Regions from separate parts of the Homo sapiens genome. Here all the other regions are linked to region 2. Evidence: promoter capture Hi-C in human tissues and cell types (Jung and others, 2019). All regions are on one chromosome and are shown on one strand. The core of a region is centred on a gene start or on the middle of the fragment in contact, and the rest is flanking DNA. Distances in the headings are between cores, read along the strand shown. Region 1 overlaps STX8 (syntaxin 8). Region 2 holds the start of PIK3R5 (phosphoinositide-3-kinase regulatory subunit 5). Region 3 overlaps CFAP52 (cilia and flagella associated protein 52).

Region 1 (3,991 bases), core at 335-2,834, 590 kb before region 2:
TCTTTCAGTTGATTCTCTTAACTCTTCCAAGTAGACTATTATCAATCTGCAAATAATAATAATCTCATCTTTCCTTGTAGTCCTTGTATTTTTCTTTAATTTTTCTTATTGTATTGGTTAGAACTTCTAGAGCAAAGTTAAATAATATTGTAGTTAAGGCAGTAGTGTTCTATTCTTAGTTTTTCTTTCTTTTTTGTGTTTCTTTTGTTTATAATTTCCCCTGTACTGTACTAATCATATGTTTATTCTGTTTTTAATTATTAACACCATGAGCTTTATTACTAGATTTTTCTAACATCAAACTGTTCTTAAATTACTAGAATAATTTCTACTTGTTGATAGTATATGGTCCTTTTTAATGTAATTCTGAATTTGCTTTGCTAATATTTTTTGAAAAGATTTTTACATTTATAATTCCTAAGTAAGATTGACATGTGGTTATCTCTGTCAGTGCTTGTTACCCAGGTTATGGTAGCTTAAAATGTGAATTAGGCTTTCCATCTTTTTTTGTGCTCTAGAAAGTGTCTTTAATTATGATAATGACATTTTTTCCTGATTACAAAAGTGATCATTTTCTTATAAAATATTAGAAAATCCCACTACTTAGATAGAACCATGGTGCTTTCATGGTTTCAATGTTTGTATTTAGTTCCTGGGTTGTTTTTTCTCTGTTTGGGTGATATTTTATTTTATGACTTGATGTTTTTTTCATAAGCTGTGATGGATATCTTTCTATGTGAACAAATAGAGATTTGAGCCATAATTTTTAATGGCTACATACTCCGTCTTTCATCTCCCAAATGCTTTTGTCTTTGATTTTGTGGACTCCTCTTCGTAGGCCTGGTGTGTGTGGCGCCTTTTTGTTTGCTTGTTTTGCCCTTTTATCTTTTTTTTTTTTTTGAGACGGAGTCTCGCTCTGTCGCCCAGGCTGGAGTGCAGTGGCGCGATCTCGGCTCACTGCAAGCTCCGCCTCCAGGGTTCACGCCGTTCTCCTGCCTCAGCCTCCCGCGTAGCTGGGACTACAGGCGCCCGCCACCGCGCCCAGCTAATTTTTTGTATTTTTAGTAGAGACGGGGTTTCACCGTCGTCTGGATCTCCTGACCTTGTGATCCACCCTCCTCGGCCTCCCAAAGTGCTGGGATTACAGGCGTGAGCCACCGCGCCCGGCCGCTCTTTTCTCTTTGAGTGTAGAGAGATCTGCTTTCCTTGGTGTTTCCCCACAACATTGTAGGTGATTGTTCCTTGGTTCCCAGGGGTATGGGGATAGTTCAGGTTAGACTTTTCTTGGCTGCTGGTGCCTTGGAGGGCTGCTGGATGTGTGCAGTCTGGGCCAGTCTCTGACACACTGGCTGGTTTTCCTTGGTGTGATTCTGCAAATCCAAGGAGGGAGTCCGCTTGAGTTATATAATTGCTGCTTTTGACAAGGTAGCAAAGGAAACCTGTGGTATTCTGTGTTTTTAACATATGTCTGATTTCATCCGTGGTTGAATATGTTTTAACTTACACAGGCAGTTTTTTCACATTTCCAAATTCCTGAGAGACTCTCTTCTCGCCCTCTTCTCCATCCTTTAATGTAACAGGTTAGAGTCACGGACAAAAATTTCCTGTAGGATGATTGGAGAAAATGCGCACCCTCCTGGGAAAAGAGTCATGTGTGGTTAGCATTCCTCTTGCATAAAAAGAACACATTGCCGTAAAACGTTTCATTGGGTTATAAATTTTACCAGTTGTTCAGAGAGCCTGGTGGGGATGGTAATGGGACTCCATGCTTTGTCGTTTGAAGCCTGGTTCAGAGAACTGTGGGTTTTTGCTCTCAAATGAAGACTCGGGGAACACAATTTCCTGCGTGGTTCCAAGGTAGATACATAGGATCAATGGGGTAGAAGCTCAGGTGACAGGATTCAGCTGATGGTGAGAGCACACTGACAGTTTCTAGTCAGTATCGGGGTTCCAGTCTGGCTTGGCTCACCACTTGGCCAGGTTGTGGAGCGGGTACAAGCTGTAGGTTGGCAGCTGGGCCAGGGCACCACTGAGCCTCCTTCCAGCCCTGAGTTTGTCGTGAGGGGCTGAGTATCTATCTCTTCCAGCCCTTGCTTGGTTGCATCATAGCCCGTGAAGTAGTGTTTACGTGATGTAATTTTGTGGATTCTACATTCTGGACTAGAATACTTAGGATGTGTTCTTTTCTTTTCAGCTTACCGTGACAATCAGAGCTTTGTTGCAGAACCTGAAGGAAAAGATCGCCCTTTTGAAGGACTTATTGCTAAGAGCTGTGTCAACACATCAGATGTATCCATGTAAACATTTCCACCTCTTTTCTAGAGTGGGAGGAAAAGCAGTCGTATTTTAAGAAAGGAAGGAATCTGGGCCACCCAGATTTTCCCACAGCTTGAGGAAGACCTGGTTTCCAAAATATTGCCTGTAATCTTGATTTCTATTTTAAGTGTCTGTTACATGTTTTACAGTGAATATGCTGGCAAAGCAAGACCTACCGAGGGAATTAACTTATTTGGGTATAACCTGTACAGTTCAGGAAGCTAATGTTTTCCGTCAGTGCGGTATTTACGGAGCCCCACACTGCTCTCTGTCTAGACCGCCTTGACCATGGCTAGCTACTGCTCCAACAGGAAAACTTCCATGATCATCCTAAGCTGTGATTCCGCTTCTGGGAGTTTCCAGAGTTTTTAATGATCCATTTATTTTCGGAGTGGGCAATACCAGTAGAAACCATACATCTCTCCTCTCACCACCTGCCCCGTGTTTATGTAGATTTGAGATGTGCCTTATTTTTCCTCCAGAGGCACAGACACTGCCTCTAGTATGGGAGTGTGAGGGGAAGGGGTGGGATGGGACTTCTTGAAGCAAGTTATGCCATCATCTTAACCTCCTACCAAGTGTTAAAATATATATATATATATATGTATGTGTATATATATATATATATATATATATATATATATATATATATATATTTTAGAAATTCATAATCTGGGCCAGGTGCAATGGTTCACGCCTATAATCCCAGCACTTTGGGAGGCCAAGCACTTGAGGCCAGGAGTTCGAGACCAGCCTGGTCAACATGGTGAAACCCCATCTCTACTGAAAATATAAAAATTAGCTGGGCGTGGTGGTGCACGCCTGTACTCCCAGCTACTCAGGAGGTTGAGGCAGGAGAATCACTTGAACCTGGGAGGCGGAGGTTGCAGTGAGCCGAGATCGTGCCAAAGCACTCCAGCTTGGGCAACAGAGTGTGACCCTGTCTCAAATAATAAAAAAAGAGAAATTCATAATCTGATCAATTTAGGAAAATATACGTGACTTGTTACCTACACTAACTTTTTACACCCAAGTGTATATTGGTTTGAAAACTTACCTGAAACTGGTCTTCTCTCATCATTTCTCTAAATTGTCAGTAGGTCATGCCAAAGACCCAATTTTTGGTATTTCAGGGAATGGATATTGCCAGATTTTAAATATAAGGAAATACAGGAATACAGCTTTTTAGATAAAAAAATGGAAAGTGTTCTAAAAAATATTTTCCCCCATTGTAACACCTTTATATCACCAGGAAAGTTGGCTTAGTTGCATGGTTTTCTAGACATTCAATTACGGATCCACTAAGGTTTCAAATAAAAGTTTAATTTCAAACAATTACAGCCTTATTTTTAACGCAATTGGAATATTCTGAGATACTTTACCTTCCATCTGGTGTAATTTGTTACAGCACAGTTGGTCTATCATATAAAGGGTTTTTATTTTACCCAAATCAACAAGTCCTAATATACTCACTGCACCATTGTGCCCAGCTAATTTTTTTTTTTTTTTTTGAGACGGAGTCTTGCTCTGTTGCCCAGGCTGGAGTGCAGCGGTGCGATCTCAGCTCACTGCAAGCTCTGCCTCCCGGGTTCATGCCATTCTCCTGCCTCCACCTCCCAAGTAGCTGGGACTACAGGTGCCTGCCACCTCGCCTGGCTAATTTTTTGTATTTTTA
Region 2 (3,741 bases), core at 213-2,712:
TACTTTCTGTTTCTGTCCATTTGGGGAAGTTGCTTTTTCTTGGTATTTCGGGAGTCAGGAAAAGAAAAGTCATTGGTGTTCATATCTCTCAAAGCCTCAGGTAGGGCTGCGGCTTTTGACCAACAATAACGTATGACCATGACCTTGTGGCCGAGTTTGCACGCCTCTAACAGATATTATGACACAGTTCCATTCAATAGTGGAAGTGGAGATTTCAGCGTTGCCCTTTGTTAACCCACAAATGAAGTGCTACTCTTCCATTGTGAGGGCTGTCGGAGCAGTAGCCAACCTTCTTATCCCCATTTTTTAAACGAGGGAAAGGAGGCATAGGAAGCGCAGTGTCTTGTGGGATTCCCTGGGGAGTCCTTCCAACTCTTGGTAGAGCATCATCTGCAACGTCGTCTGGGGGAGAAAAGGGGGAGGCAAGAAGAGGGCCTTGACCCTGGAGGCAGGAACTCCCGCACACCCTCACTCCCTTCCCCAGGGGCTGGGGAAACCACTCAGGTGACAGTAGCCTTGGTGCCGGCCAGGGAGGGCGGGAAGTCCAGCCAGAGGCTGGAACAGCAGTGCTGAACGCCGGGACTGGCTGGTATTTCTATGAAGGTTCCTGCAGAAGGATGCGGGTCAAGGTGCCCGTCTGCACAGCAGTAGTGCAGGCATTTTAAGGGTTAAGGGCACCCAAAGAAAATAGAAGTAGGGGCCGGGCGCAGTGGCTCACGCCTGTAATCCCAGCACTTTGGGAAGCCGAGGCGGGCGGATCACGAGGTCAAGAGATCGAGACCATCCTGGCCAACATGGTGAAACCCCGTCTCTAGTAAAAATACAAAAAATTGGGCGTGGTGGCGCGCGCCTGTAGTCCCAGCTACCCGGGAGGCTGAGGCAGGAGAATCGCTTGAACCCGGGAGGCGGAGGTTGTGGGGAGTCAAGATCGTGCCACTGCACTCCAGCCTGGCGACAGAGCGAGACTCCATCTCAAAAAAAAAAAAAAAAAAAAGAAAGAAAATAGAAGTAGGAAGAGGAAGTGGGTCGCAGTGAGAGAAGGAAGCAGCTCGTCGGAGCTTCCTCTTTCTCGTCTTTCCCCTAAGCCCCTACCCCAGACCTGCCCCCCTGCTCCGCCCAGCCCTCCTGCGGGGCCAAAGCCGCGCTTCCGACGCGGGGGCCTAACCTCCCCTTACTCCTTGGGGGTCGCTGGTGCTCCGCGCTGGTGCCCCTCGGGCCACTGCCATGGACCGGCCAGGGTCTGCTTCTTCCGAGGGCTGGCGGGTCAGAGCCGGGGCTGCTTCTCAGACGCCTTGCGGCCTCGGGGGCGTGACCCAGAGGATGTGGGGCCGGGCGCGCACCTGGCTGACGCTGCCGGGCCGCCAGGTGGCTGGAGAGGCCGGCTCCGCGGTCAGCCCCGCCCCATTAGGCCCCGCCCCCTGACAGGCTCCGCCCCGCCCGCCGGAGGAGCCCAGGCTGGGCAGATGCTGCGGCTCGCCGCGCGGCTCCAGCTGGGGCGCGGTGGTCCCGACGGTCACCCGAATCGCAGGGAGTCGCCGCTGGAGAGGGGCTCGGCGCCCGGCGGGGACTGCAGGTGTGTGACTGGGCGGCCAGGGCGGATGCGGAGGGCACGCATGGGAGCTCCAGGCAGAGCTGGAGCAAGCTGGGGACCGTCGGGGAGAGTGGGCTCCGCGAGCAGCCGCCGCAGCCCGAGGGCTGGACAGATCCTGCTATCTTCCGGCCCCGTGGACCTGGCCCACCGCGGGGGCAGCGGGTCTGCAAACCTGCGCTCCAGATAACCCCAGAGACTTAAGGGGCGTCGCGGGGACCACTTATCGTTATCCGGGTAACCTCTGCTGGGCGGCTCTGCGCAGCTGTGTCCTCAGCCTCCTGCCTCTGACACAGGACGCCCTGTGTCGTAGGGTCAGGTCCCCTGCCCGCTCCAGCGGGGAACTGTCCGTGAGCGTGGGCATCAGGGCTCTTGTGCCGTCAGAACCTGGGAGTCATGGAAGTGCCCGCGTAAGGCGCCCTCCGTCGAGCCTCACTCAGCCTGCTAGTTAGCCAGCCTTGGGCCCAGACGCGGCTGCTGTCCTAGAGAACTGCACGCTTTCTGCTCTCAGAGGATCTGTGTTTACACACTGGACATCCCCGCGTGACTCGTGTGTGTGTGTGTGTGTGTGTGTGTGTGGGCATGCGCATGTGCGCGTGCTGGCCCATCCCGGCCTGGGGTAAATACACAAAAAGTTCAGGTCAGTAGGAGGAAGGAGATTGTTCAGAAGGAAAAGGAAGGCGAGGTTAAAGCAGCAGGATGTGGTATAAAGCGAGTTAACAAGACTCGGAGTAGAGAGGAGGGGTGGGTTTAGGCAGAATAAGGGCTAAAAGTAGGCCAAGCCTGCCTCCAAGGTCCTCTCTGGACTGACACCCTCGTTTTCCTTCTGTGTCTTCTCATCCACCCCACACTTTCCTTCCTGCCCTCAGGACCACCTGTAAGGCACTGGCTCCCAGAGCTGACTGCAGGTAGGGCTCTCTTGGAGCCAACCCTACAACGTGGCTTTCCAGGGATGGGATCTGGAATCTGTAGTTTTCAAAACTTTGAATGAGCTCCTTAAGTGATGATGCTGAAGCCGTTGCTTGGGAACCATGCATGATGTGGAAAAGAGACCCAAGTTCCAACCGGATCCAGCTGTGTGACCTGCAGCATCACACTGTCCCCCAACCCAGCCTCAGTCTCCTGATTCATAAAATGGGCTGTCATACTGACCCATAGAGCTGTGTGGAATTATTATTATTATTATTATTGAGACAGGGTCTTGCTCTGTCACTCAGGCTGGAGTGCAGTGGCGTGATCATGGCTCACTGCAGCCTTAAATTCCCAGGCTCAAGCAATCCTCCGCCTCCGCCTCCCAAGTAGCTGGGATTACAGGTCAGCACCACGGCGCCCAGCTAATTTTTGTATTTTTTGTAGAGGCAGGGTTTTGCCATGTTGCCCAGGTTGGTCCCAAATTCCTTGAGCTCAAGCGATCCGTCTACCTTGGCCTTCCAAAGTGCTGGGATTATAGACATGAGCCACTGTGCCTGGCCCAGTGTGGAAAATTAAGTGAGGCATGTATGATGAGAACGGCTGCACGTGGGAGATGCTCCGTGGATGTTTGTAGAACGCTGGCTTCCGTGTTTCCTCGTTGTGGCTGTGGTGGTGTGGGTCTTTGCCTGTGGACCCGTGGAAGACAAAGAAGACAGTTTTGGATGGTCAAGCTACTTTCTTGCTTCAGGGCTCCCTCCCCTGCTTTTTGAAGCCTCACAAACCAGGACTGTGAGGGCAGGAAGGCTTGGGGTCTTTGTGTGCTGAGCCTCATTAGGGTTTTAAGAACCTCCCTCCTTTCATCTCTAGCTTACGAGAGGGATGATTCATTATCTTCCCTCCTCAGGCTGCAGTAGAAGCAGACAGTCTCTGCCTCCCTGCTTGCCTTTCCTCCCTCCCATTCACTGTTGATTATTGCCCTCAAGAATAACAGGTTGCCCAGCTACTCGAGAAGCTTAAGTGGGAGGATTGCTTGACCCCAGGAGTTCGAGGCTGCAGTGAGCTATGATCGCTTCACTGCGCTATAGCCTGGCAGACACAGAGAGACCCTATCTCAAGCAAACAGACAAACAAAAAAAAAAAAAGAAGAAGAAGAAGAAGAATAGGTTGGATGCTAACTGGTGGCACTGGGTGACAAGAGCATTTGGGGTTGATGTTGGCATGAGGATGAGAAGGCAGGGGTG
Region 3 (3,663 bases), core at 1,164-3,663, 620 kb before region 2:
GATTCAGAGACTCAACTCGGTGAGGTGGTCTTTGAACGCTAGTTTATTGTCTCCCCTGGGTTGCTGGCTTCTCCAATAAAGCTAACCTTCCTTTCACCAAAGCTCATCTCTTGAGTTTTTAGCTTTCAAGTGACAAGTGGCCCAAACTTGATTTTGGTTATACCAAGAACCATCTCAACAATTATAAACCCTTGTAATATGTTTTAATATGAAACAGACCCAGGTCCTCCATTATTGCTCACCTATGGTCAGAATTTTTTTGATTGCTCTTCGTGTTTATTTTACAATACAAACTTGCATGTCACCTTGGCTATTTAAAATTCATGATTGTGTTTTTAGTGAGATAGTATTAAATGTATAGATTAACTTAAGGGAAAATGATTTTTATAATAATATAAAATACCTCTATTTTAAAAACAGGATATGTTTCTTCATAAGTCTCCTTTTATGCCTTCTAGTAGCATTTTCCATTTTTTTCATAAAGATCTCACTCATTTCTTATTACATTTATTCTTGGGTTTTTAAAAAACTTTTTTGTTGCTATCTCCTTCTCCATCGAAAGACTCATAAATATTTATTAATATAATCTTCTTGTTCTTAAATGAATGCTTCTTTTATATTTAACTCCCTCTGGAATTTATTTTGGTGCTTTATGTGATTCCTGTAGCTAAATGGATTATTTTTGCTCAAATGGCCAAATGTAATTATTGAATAAATGATTTTTTTTCATTTTAATTGAGTGTTCCTTTTTTATGCAGTATGTTCTTATAATACCAAGGTTTATGTCTTTAGGGTGATCTATTCCTACTAAAAATTTTTTATAGTTTTCTAATTGCAGGTTCTTTATAAACAATCATATGGCTATCCATATGGAAAAATTAAACTTAGATTCATAATTCACACCTTACACAAACAATATCTTCCAGGTAGATCAAAGACCTAAATGTGAAAAACAAGACAGTGTGTACAAAAGTAAGAAATGACTTTCCAACTATGACACAAAAAGAGCAAATCATAAAAGAAAAGGCTGAAATATTTACCCAGTTATGTGAAAAATGAAAAACATCTAGGCTGGGCTGGGTGGCTCATGCCTGTAATCCCAGCACTTTGGGAGGCCGAGGCAGGCAGATCACTCGAGGCTGGGAGTTTGAGACCAGCCTAGCCAATATGGCGAAACCCTGTCTCTACTAAAAATACAAAAATTAGCTGGGCGTAGTGGTGGACACCTATAATCCCAGCTACTTGAGAGGCTGAGGCAGGAGAATCGCTTAAACCTGGGAGGTGGATGTTGCAGTGAGCTGAGATTGTGCCACTGCACTCCAGCCTGGGTGACAGAGTGAGACTCTTTCTCAAAAAATCAAAAAATTTAATTACTAAAGACATTGTTATTGGAAGGATGAAGAGAAAAACACAAACAAGAAGATATTTTCAATGTATACAATAGACAAAGGATCATCTCCATAATATACGAAGAACTCCTACAAGGCAATAAGGAAAACATATGCTTCTCAATAGAAAAATGAGCAAAGGATATGGATAGCCAGTTTATGCTGAAGGAAATTCAAAACCCAATAAACCTACAAAAAGAGATGCAACCTCATAAGTAACCAGGAAAATGTAAATTATGTCCGAAATGAGATACCATGTCATATCCACCAAAATGGCTAAAATTAAGATGGCTGACAGTACCAGGCATCTGTGTTGATGTGGAACAAAGCCAACACTCATAAAATGCTTGGTGGGAGAGTAAATCGGTCTAATCGTTTTGGAAAACAATGTGTCTTTATTGATGATGCTTGAATGCGCACATGCCCCAGGACCCAGCTACTCTATTCTTAGGTGTGCAACCTGCCCAGAGATAACCTTGTAACATGCAGGTGTGTATTTCTTCAGATTTATTTTTGTTTTTGCATTTAAAAATTATGGTTCTTGGTTGCAAACTAGAAGAGTCAACTCTGGCTAAATGTAGCAGAAAAAGAATTATATGGAAGGAATACATATTGCTCACACAACTGGCAGGAAGTTTGGGTCACACTTGAAAAATGGGCAGAACTAATAGCAAGGCGAGACCAAGTGACACGAACTAAAGACCTCTCATGGCCACACTGCTCAACGCTCAATGCTCCTTTGCATCACTCCTATAAGAGTGGAACTGCGGAGTGGGAATGTCTGATTGGCTGAGCCAATTATGTTACATCTCTCAATTGGCTGCCAAGGAATTAGGAGAGAAAATATGTGCCTCTTTTAGGCTCTCACTAAAGCAATAGAACCAGCTCCTACCTATCTTGGGATACTTCTCAAATAGAATAGTATTCAGATATGAGTAACCAAAACTACGCATGTCCACTACAATTCATATTCTTTGCTCTCTTCTCCAGACATACTCACACACACTCCATTTTCTCTCTCTCTCGCCTTCTTTCCCTCCCTCTCTGTCTCCCTCTGTCCCTCCCTCCCTCTCCTCTCTCTCTATCCCCTCTCTCTCTCTCAAACATATGTACACTTTAAACTGTAATAGGCTCATATCATATACACTGTATGGCAAATTGCATTTTATACTTAATATATCTTTGACATCTTTCCTCATTAGTTTATATACATCTATTCCATTTTTCTTAAGGATTGTACAGTATCAAATTGCACAAAAGGAATATAATTTTAAAAATTATTGGAGTGAAATTCACATAACATAAAATTAACTGTTTTAACGTGAACAATTCAGTGGCATTTAGTGCATTCACAATGCTGTGCAACCAGCACTTCCGGGTTCACGCCATTCTCCTGCCTCAGCCTCCCGAGTAGCTGGGACTACAGGTGCCCGCCACCGCGCCCGGCTAATTTTTTGGTATTTTTAGTAGAGACGGGGTTTCACCGTGTTAGCCAGGATGGTTTCCATCTCCTGACCTCGTGATCCACCCGCCTGGGCCTTCCAAAGTGCTGGGATTACAGGCGTGAGCCACCACGCCTGGCCACGTAGTTTTTTAAAACTTCTTACCAATGGATATTTGGGTTGTTTCTTCCAATGTTTCAGCTATTATAGACAATATCACAGTGAACTTCATTGCACGTAAATTTTTTGAAAACTTGAATAAGTGATTCAAGTTCTTAAAAGCTCAAAGATTATCTTCATTAAGAATTGTAATAGATACTATAAAACTGGCCTTCAACAAGGTTGTAAAATTAATACCGGCAGTAGTAATTGAGAACCATTTCTTATTCTCACCTTATTATATTACCCTTTTTTTTTCTTTTTTTGCCTTTGCCAGTTTGAGAAGCAAAAACCATCACTGCTTTAACAGCATTTTTTTTTTTTTTTTGAGACCAGGTCTCACTCTGTTGCCCAGGCAGGAGTGCAGTGGTACAGTGATGGCTCACTGCAGCCTCTACCTCCCGGGCTCAGGTGATCCTCCCACCTCAGCCTCTCGAATAGCTGGGACTACAGGCATGCATCGCCATGCCTGGCTATTTTTTGGTATTTTTTATAGAGATAGGGTTTCACCATGTTGCCCAGGCTGGTCTCAAACTCCTGGCCTCAAGGAATCTTCCTGCCTCAACCTCCCAAAGTGCTGGGATTACAGGTGTGAGCCACCGCACATGAACTTTAATAGCATTTTTAAGCTTTTTGAGCTAATAGCCATTTATATTTATTTACCTATTTACAGG

What was found. Contacts are between HindIII fragments. The study calls those that stand out against the background at their distance.
Region 1: a contact is called between a fragment that was not itself captured here and the fragment with the promoter of PIK3R5 in region 2, in 2 of the 25 tissues and cell types used here (heart left ventricle and mesendoderm cells).
Region 3: a fragment that was not itself captured here is called in contact with the fragment with the promoter of PIK3R5 in region 2 in 1 of the 25 tissues and cell types used here (IMR-90 fibroblasts).

What each region holds. Positions count from the first base shown.
Region 1 is chr17:9,555,732-9,559,722 of GRCh38, reverse strand. STX8 (syntaxin 8) reads left to right here. Exons shown (of 8, transcript NM_004853.3): 3 at 2,195-2,289. Among named protein-coding and RNA genes, the nearest start is that of STX8, 18 kb to the left of the region's middle. The HindIII fragment of the contact is 6,164 bases long and covers 1-3,991 here.
Region 2 is chr17:8,963,428-8,967,168 of GRCh38, reverse strand. It overlaps PIK3R5 (phosphoinositide-3-kinase regulatory subunit 5), which reads left to right and starts at 1,462. Exons shown (of 19, transcript NM_001142633.3): 1 at 1,462-1,573. PIK3R5-DT (PIK3R5 divergent transcript) reads right to left here and starts at 1,322. Exons shown (of 3, transcript NR_184080.1): 1 at 1,166-1,322; 2 at 1-402. RefSeq lists silencers at 1,049-1,148, 1,219-1,538. The HindIII fragment of the contact is 11,271 bases long and covers 1-3,741 here.
Region 3 is chr17:9,580,343-9,584,005 of GRCh38, reverse strand. All of the region lies in intron 1 of CFAP52 (cilia and flagella associated protein 52), which reads right to left. Among named protein-coding and RNA genes, the nearest start is that of CFAP52, 5.5 kb to the right of the region's middle. The HindIII fragment of the contact is 5,237 bases long and covers 1-3,663 here.